Regions from separate parts of the Homo sapiens genome. Here region 1 is linked to region 2. Evidence: promoter capture Hi-C in 16 types of primary human blood cells and fetal thymus (Javierre and others, 2016). All regions are on one chromosome and are shown on one strand. Each heading gives the region's core, a stretch centred on a gene start or on the middle of the fragment in contact. The rest is flanking DNA. Distances are from core to core; before and after follow the strand shown.

Region 1 (3,082 bases), core at 548-3,047, 140 kb after region 2:
TTAAAGGTCACCTTTACAAAGTAGCATTTAAAAATAAATCCATCTCACAGCTCAAAGAAATTTCTGACAGTACTGCCCTCATGCTGGTCAGCCATTATTTACTGTGTGTCTGCCACATGTCGGCACATATATATAGCTCTTCCTCTCCTTTCCTGGGAGCAAACCCTTAGCGTTTCTTCCACGTAAACTTTCTGCGGGCTCCCTCTTGGCCTGGCTTCTTCCGTTCCCTCACACGTGGATCAGTAGTAAGTAGTCCAGCTGCAGCATAAAAAGAGAAGCCTTTAGGAACCATTAATATGCATGCTGCCCAGAAGAAAAGCAGGTTCATAAATTTATAGGTACTGTTGTCTGAGAAAAAAAACTAGAGGAAAGCAACCAGACCAGTAATAATTTACCAGCCCAGTATCAACCTCATGATGGCAGTTTGCTTCCACTCTTTCAGGATATTTTTCCAACCTCTGAGACAAACACAAGTTACATTATTTAAACCTGCTTCCCTTAAATTATAAGAATCATGGCTCCCTTTTGGTTTTTAAGCTTGCTCAACCTAAGTGAGATAAAGCTCCTCTTGTGTGGGCGGTCACTATTCACTGTAAGGGAACTTAACCTGCACACTTACTATTGCAGAGGACAGAGTTTTAATGGAGACAAGAGGCAGAGAAGAAAAACTTACTGTAAAGGTGAAGTATGAGAAAGTACTTAGATACCATCTATTAACAGTTTACATGAATATGCATATACACACAAATATGACTTGTCAAACATTTAAAAAAGGAAACTTTCATTATTTTAATTTATGCCATAATAATATTCCCTGTTTTTTTGTTTTAGAATCTAAAAAATAAGTTTTAGAGTTGTATTCTCAGCACAGGCAGTTTCTTCTAGAAGAATAAAGTCAGTTTAAACGGGAAACTTTCATTCTCCCAATCATCAGGAGTGATTATGTTTCTAGGCAACTGCTGGGGTTACTCTTAGCTATGGCCCATAAGGAAGAGCCCCAGCAGTGGCTGGAGCTATAGTAAGTTAGTAAAGACCATAGATTCCAAGAATACCACTGATGGGAAAGCTCTTACATTGCTTTTATAAATATGTAAATGGACCATACTTTTTCCTTGTCTTTTTCACTCTTCCAACGTTAGCACTCCTCCTACTGTATACAAGGCTTGGGTATTTTATTAAGGACCATTTAATGTACATAGAGCAAAGGAAAACCTTGTTTATGATATACCCATAACATTTACACTTGCTTGTACTTAAAGGACATGCATGGAATAAAACAGCAGTATTTGACAAAATACAGAAAAGACCTAAGTTCTAGCTTCAACTGTAAGTAAGAATGCTTTATTACTTTCAGATATGCACAGTAGCTCAAACTCATCAAATTGTTAAGATTCTAGCAAATTACTTCAATGACTAGATATGAATCCCATATGATGACAAATTGCTTATAAGCAAATGGATTTTTAAGAGCCTTAAGCAATTAAGTAGCCTAAGCCATAGGTAGTGTTTTTATTGAACCTCAGCGGCTTGTACTAGAAGGTCTGGTGCACAGAGACCAACCTACTTGCCCAGAGGAGGAGCTTATAGACTTAGGTGCTAAGTGACTTGCCCACGACCATGCAGCCGCCAATAGCACACATGGTGCTTTCCTCTTCTCATCAACAGTGCGAAGATGGTCTTCAGCTCAAACTTCCCCAATTTATTCCAACTTCTAAAGCAGTAGTCTAAGGTAAGAATCAACTGCCCATCCTTTTTCACATTACACAGGGACTCTTGTATTCATGCCCAGGTAACAGGGTTACACAGAGTAGGGTAAAAGAAAATTCAAACACCACAATGGGAAAAAATGGAAACCTCCAATAACTTACAAAAACAAAATACCCAAAGAACTTTATCACTAACCAAATAATTATTACAAATTTCTATGACAGGCCAGGTGTGGTAGCTCATGCTACGTAATGTCAGTGCTTTGGGAGGCCAAGGCAGGATTGTTTGAGGCCAGGAGTTCGAGAACAGCCTGGGCAACATAGCAAAATGCAGTCTCTACAAAATATACAAAAATTATCCAGGTTTGGGAGTGTATGTCATAGTCCTAACTACCTGGGAGGCCGAGGCAGGAGGATTGCTCGAGCCCAGAAGTTTAAGGCTGCAGCTAGCTATGATAATACCACTGCACTCCAGCCTGGCTGACAGAGAGAGACTGTTTAAAAAACAAAAACAAAAAACCCACACATTTCTATGATAAAACAAAAACAAGCAATTTGTCTCTTAAATATAACTAAGCTAAGCACTTTGTTAAGCTGGATAAAAGGTTATGCATTAAGGCCAAAATTAACTTTTCCCTGACCTTGGAACTGAACATTTTAGCAGGGCTCAAATAATCAGTGTGGGGAGTTCTCCCCTTTTTCTAATTCAAGCTCACCTTGTAGAAATCAAATCTGAGAAATACTGTTATGGTTCTGTAGCAAGAAAGAAGACAGCGAAGTGAAATATTACATATGTAACTATATATTTTCTTACGAACTTCAGGCACTAGGACAAGAAGCAGATGAACATGTATAGCCAGTATTGGGCCACCATGCCCGTCCCACCTAGACTCATACCTTGTCTCATCCACTCGACCTCGTCCTCGGTGACAAAGCTGCACAAGGCTTTTGCCATTGCCAGTCGTATTGCTCCAGCCTGCGCTGACCTCCCGCCCCCTGAGACTGTGCAGGTCACGTCGTGCTTTCCCAGCCGGTCAACAAAGTGGAAAGGGAACATCAGCTGTTCTCTAAAGCACAGCACAAGTAAATGTGGTTACGTTTACTATAAAGATACATAATTATGTAAACAACTGAAATTCTGAATATTCATAAAAACAATATTCTGCATGCCACTGTTATACTTTTCATACTTCTCAATCAATCCATTTTACCAAGATATAGAAACACTAACATTTCTGACATTTTGAATGATTTGCTGAGAGATTAAGATTTATTTCTTTTGCTTGGGTATAGCAACACACTCTTACTGTTTGCTGATCCCCTTTATCTCAGAAGATCTTTTCAAAGCTTGAAAATAATCTCGTAAAGAAGTCTTA
Region 2 (3,143 bases), core at 364-2,863:
GGGCTCGCAGGGCAGGTTGAAGCTCTTGTGACTGACCAGTCCTCCTGCCCCACACTCAACCAGCTTCATTCCCTGTTGCCCTCCTCCTCCCTTTCTGCCCAACTTCTGCACTCCCCAGCCCACTCCATTTTTGACTTAATGACGTTGCAGTTCCCATCAGCCCCATATTTGGCTCTCTGCAAAGAGAAACAAAAATAATTCATCGTGCCAAAATTTGAAATTTGGGAGCTGCAGCTCATCTGATTACAAATGAGTACCTTTGTGCTTAAATTGCCACCACAAAGTGCAGACTATGACCAACATGCCAGGGAACAGAGCAGGACAGATCCACCCTGGGACTGGGGCTCAGCTGCCCCTTCTCTGTGGCCCCCTGACCCCCTAAACCGCAGACTGGTTTTCATTGCACACGTAGACTGTGCTTGGCTGGATTCTCCTTCGGATCCGCTCAGGCACTTTGGGGAGGATTTGGAAGGTCTGGGGCAGCAACTCTATGCAGGCCTCGCGGAATTTTTTGATTCTCCAGCAGTAGACGATGGGGTTGAAGACGGACTTGAGGTAACTGAGCCACAGGACGCAGGTGCTGGTGGCGTAGAAGGAGGAACCGCAGTAAAAGCGCTGGCTAAACACAGACAGGAGGCTGTAGACGGAGTGGGGCAGCCAGCAGAGGGAGAAGCCCACGAAGAGGATCAGGATGGTGGTGAAGGCCTTGGTCTTGAAGCTCAAGTCCACGCTGACCTGTTGCTGCCGCTGCAGGCGCCGCAGGCCCGCCCTGGTGAGCTGCCGCAGGTCCAGGCTGTCCGACTGGTTGTGCACGCGCACGGCGTTCTTGCGGACCGTGTTGAGGATGCACATGTAGGCGCACAGCATGACGCCAAAGGGCGCGAAGAACACGGCCACCACCAAGGTGACCACGTAGGCGCGGTCAGCGGGGAGCTCCGTGTAGCCCAGCACGCACTGTGGGGCCCGCGCCGGCACCTCCACCAGCGTCCAGCCCGTGAGCGAGGGCCCCGCGATGCAGAAGGACAGCACCCAGGAGACCGCGATGATCACCTTGGCCCTGCGCGGGTTCAGCTTGTCCTGGCGCTGGACGATGATGAGGAAGCGGTCCACGCTGATGATGAGCAGGATGGCCACGCCCTCCAGGACAAAAAACCAGTAGAGCGTGGCTGAGAGGCGGCAGAAGTGGTCCCCAAAGTGCCAGCGCACGGTGATGAGGGTGACGGCGGTGAAGGGCATGCAGCAGAGGGACAGCATGATGTCGGAGAAGGCCAGGGTGGCCAGCAGCAGGTTGATGGCCGAGCGCATAGCCGGCCTCTGGTACACGATGATGCAGACCACAGTGTTGCCCAGGAACCCCACCACGGTCATCAGCAGCATCACTATGGCCAAGGAGATCCTGAGGGGTGCGGGCAACTGGGTGGACCCCGAGTCTGAGGCGTTGCTGGTGTTCAGCAGCAGGTATGTGTAAGCCTCAAGGGACGTGCTGTTGCAGGCCATCGTGGAGAGACCCTTGGAGCTGGGACAGAAATGGCCGGGAGGGCTCCCCTCAGCACTTGGGTGGCTGCCATTCTTTGTCTGCTGGCTGCATCTTCCTGGATGTCTGTGGACCTCTGGGGCACTGGAATGGTCTTGGGGAGAAATGTCCGTCTTTGTGAGCACTAGCTGGGATTTGCGATTCATGGATCACATCCTAAGCATCTCTGTGGAGAGCGACTCTGTGCACAGCTTCGTGCTTGGACCCTCTGTAGTGGACAGCAAGCAAAAGTACAAAAGAGAAGGGGGTTAGAGTTTCCAAACGCGTTGAAGAAAGCACGCGTTTAAGCTTTACAGGTGTTTCTAAACAAGTTTATTTACCACGTGGGACAAAGCTTGATATTCACAAATACTGTCTGAGTCTTGTCAAGCAGCCCAGAAAAACCTAATCAGCTATCTTCTGAGGAAACTGAGGAAGTACACTTTGTAGTTAGTGTTTATGTAATAACTTGAGTTTTCAGCAACCTGTCGGAATGAAGCCTTGGTCTAGCCAACTAACGTTAGAATCCTGCTCCACAAGAGAAAGGTTTTGCTTGTTTCATTCTCTGCTATCTCCCAGTACTGACAACAGTGGCTGGCATGCAGTAAGTGTCCTTGTTGAGGACACTTGGATGCTTGTTGAGTAGATGAATAAGTGATAGTTGATGCTGCTGCTATAATATTTGTTTAGCTTTAAAAAACCCCACTTCATCGAGGAATGACTGACATGTCAAAAGCTGTACAAATTTACATCTCAATATACCAGAAACCCATCACCACCAAGGCCAAAAACATATCCCACTCCCCCTGCCAAAGCTCTCTCCTGCCATTTTTCTAGTATTATCATTTTGTTTTGGTGGTAAGAATACTTCACCTAAGATCTGCCCTCTTAGCAAATTTTAAGTATACATTTTTAAGTTTTAATTTTTTAAAAGAAATTGTAAGTCTGTTTGTTTAACTTTATTTGATAAGTGTAAATTCACATGGATAAGTGTAAATTCACATGGAGTTATAATAATAAATACTATGGTGAAATTCTGTGTGTCCTTCACCCAGTTTTCCCTAATGGTAACATCTTGGATAACTGTGGGGCTGCTATACTATTACTTCTGGAAGCACAGACTGGGAGAAGGGAACTTTCCCCAAAGGTAAGGCCTTTTAAAATACAATGTTAGCTGGGTGCAGTGGCTCATGCCTATAATCCCAGCACTTTGAGAGGCAGAGACAGGAGGATTGCTTGAGGCCAGGAGTTCAAGACCTGCCTGGGCAACATAGAGAGATCCCATCTCTACACACACAAAAAAATGAGCCAGGCTTCCATCTATAGTCCCTGCTACTCAGGAGGCCGAGGCAGGAGGATTGCTCAAGCACAGAAGTTCGAGGCTGTCGTGAGCTAAGAAGGTGTCACTGTACTCCAGCCTGGGTAACAGAGTGAGACCCTGTCTCTTAAAAAAAAAGTAAATGAAATGAGCTTTTATTCCTTACATTCTTGATAAACTTGCTTTCACTTTCAAAAAGATAAATATAATTTTAATTTTGTCTCACTGATGTGGCAAGAGTGTGTTCAGTAGCTCAGGTCTGAAGTCACATCGCCTGGGCTGGGGGAAATCCAGCCTGCGCCATTTATCCAC

What was found. Contacts are between HindIII fragments. The CHiCAGO score rates a contact against its expected background, and 5 or more counts as called.
Region 1: a fragment that was not itself captured here is called in contact with the fragment with the promoter of GPR45 in region 2 in 8 of 17 cell types (total B cells, megakaryocytes, naive B cells and 5 more); the score reaches 8.3 in total B cells.

Annotation. Positions count from the first base shown.
Region 1 is chr2:105,096,846-105,099,927 of GRCh38, reverse strand. MRPS9 (mitochondrial ribosomal protein S9) reads right to left here. Exons shown (of 11, transcript NM_182640.3): 10 at 2,604-2,773; 11 at 1-258. The coding sequence ends at 167. It overlaps MRPS9-AS1 (MRPS9 antisense RNA 1), which reads left to right. Exons shown (of 4, transcript NR_110227.1): 2 at 628-680; 3 at 1,666-1,729; 4 at 2,530-2,876. Among named protein-coding and RNA genes, the nearest start is that of MRPS9-AS1, 4.6 kb to the left of the region's middle. The HindIII fragment of the contact is 2,516 bases long and covers 540-3,055 here.
Region 2 is chr2:105,240,213-105,243,355 of GRCh38, reverse strand. GPR45 (G protein-coupled receptor 45) reads right to left here and starts at 1,613. Exons shown (of 1, transcript NM_007227.3): 1 at 1-1,613. The coding sequence starts at 1,497. The coding sequence ends at 379. The HindIII fragment of the contact is 10,787 bases long and covers 1-1,824 here.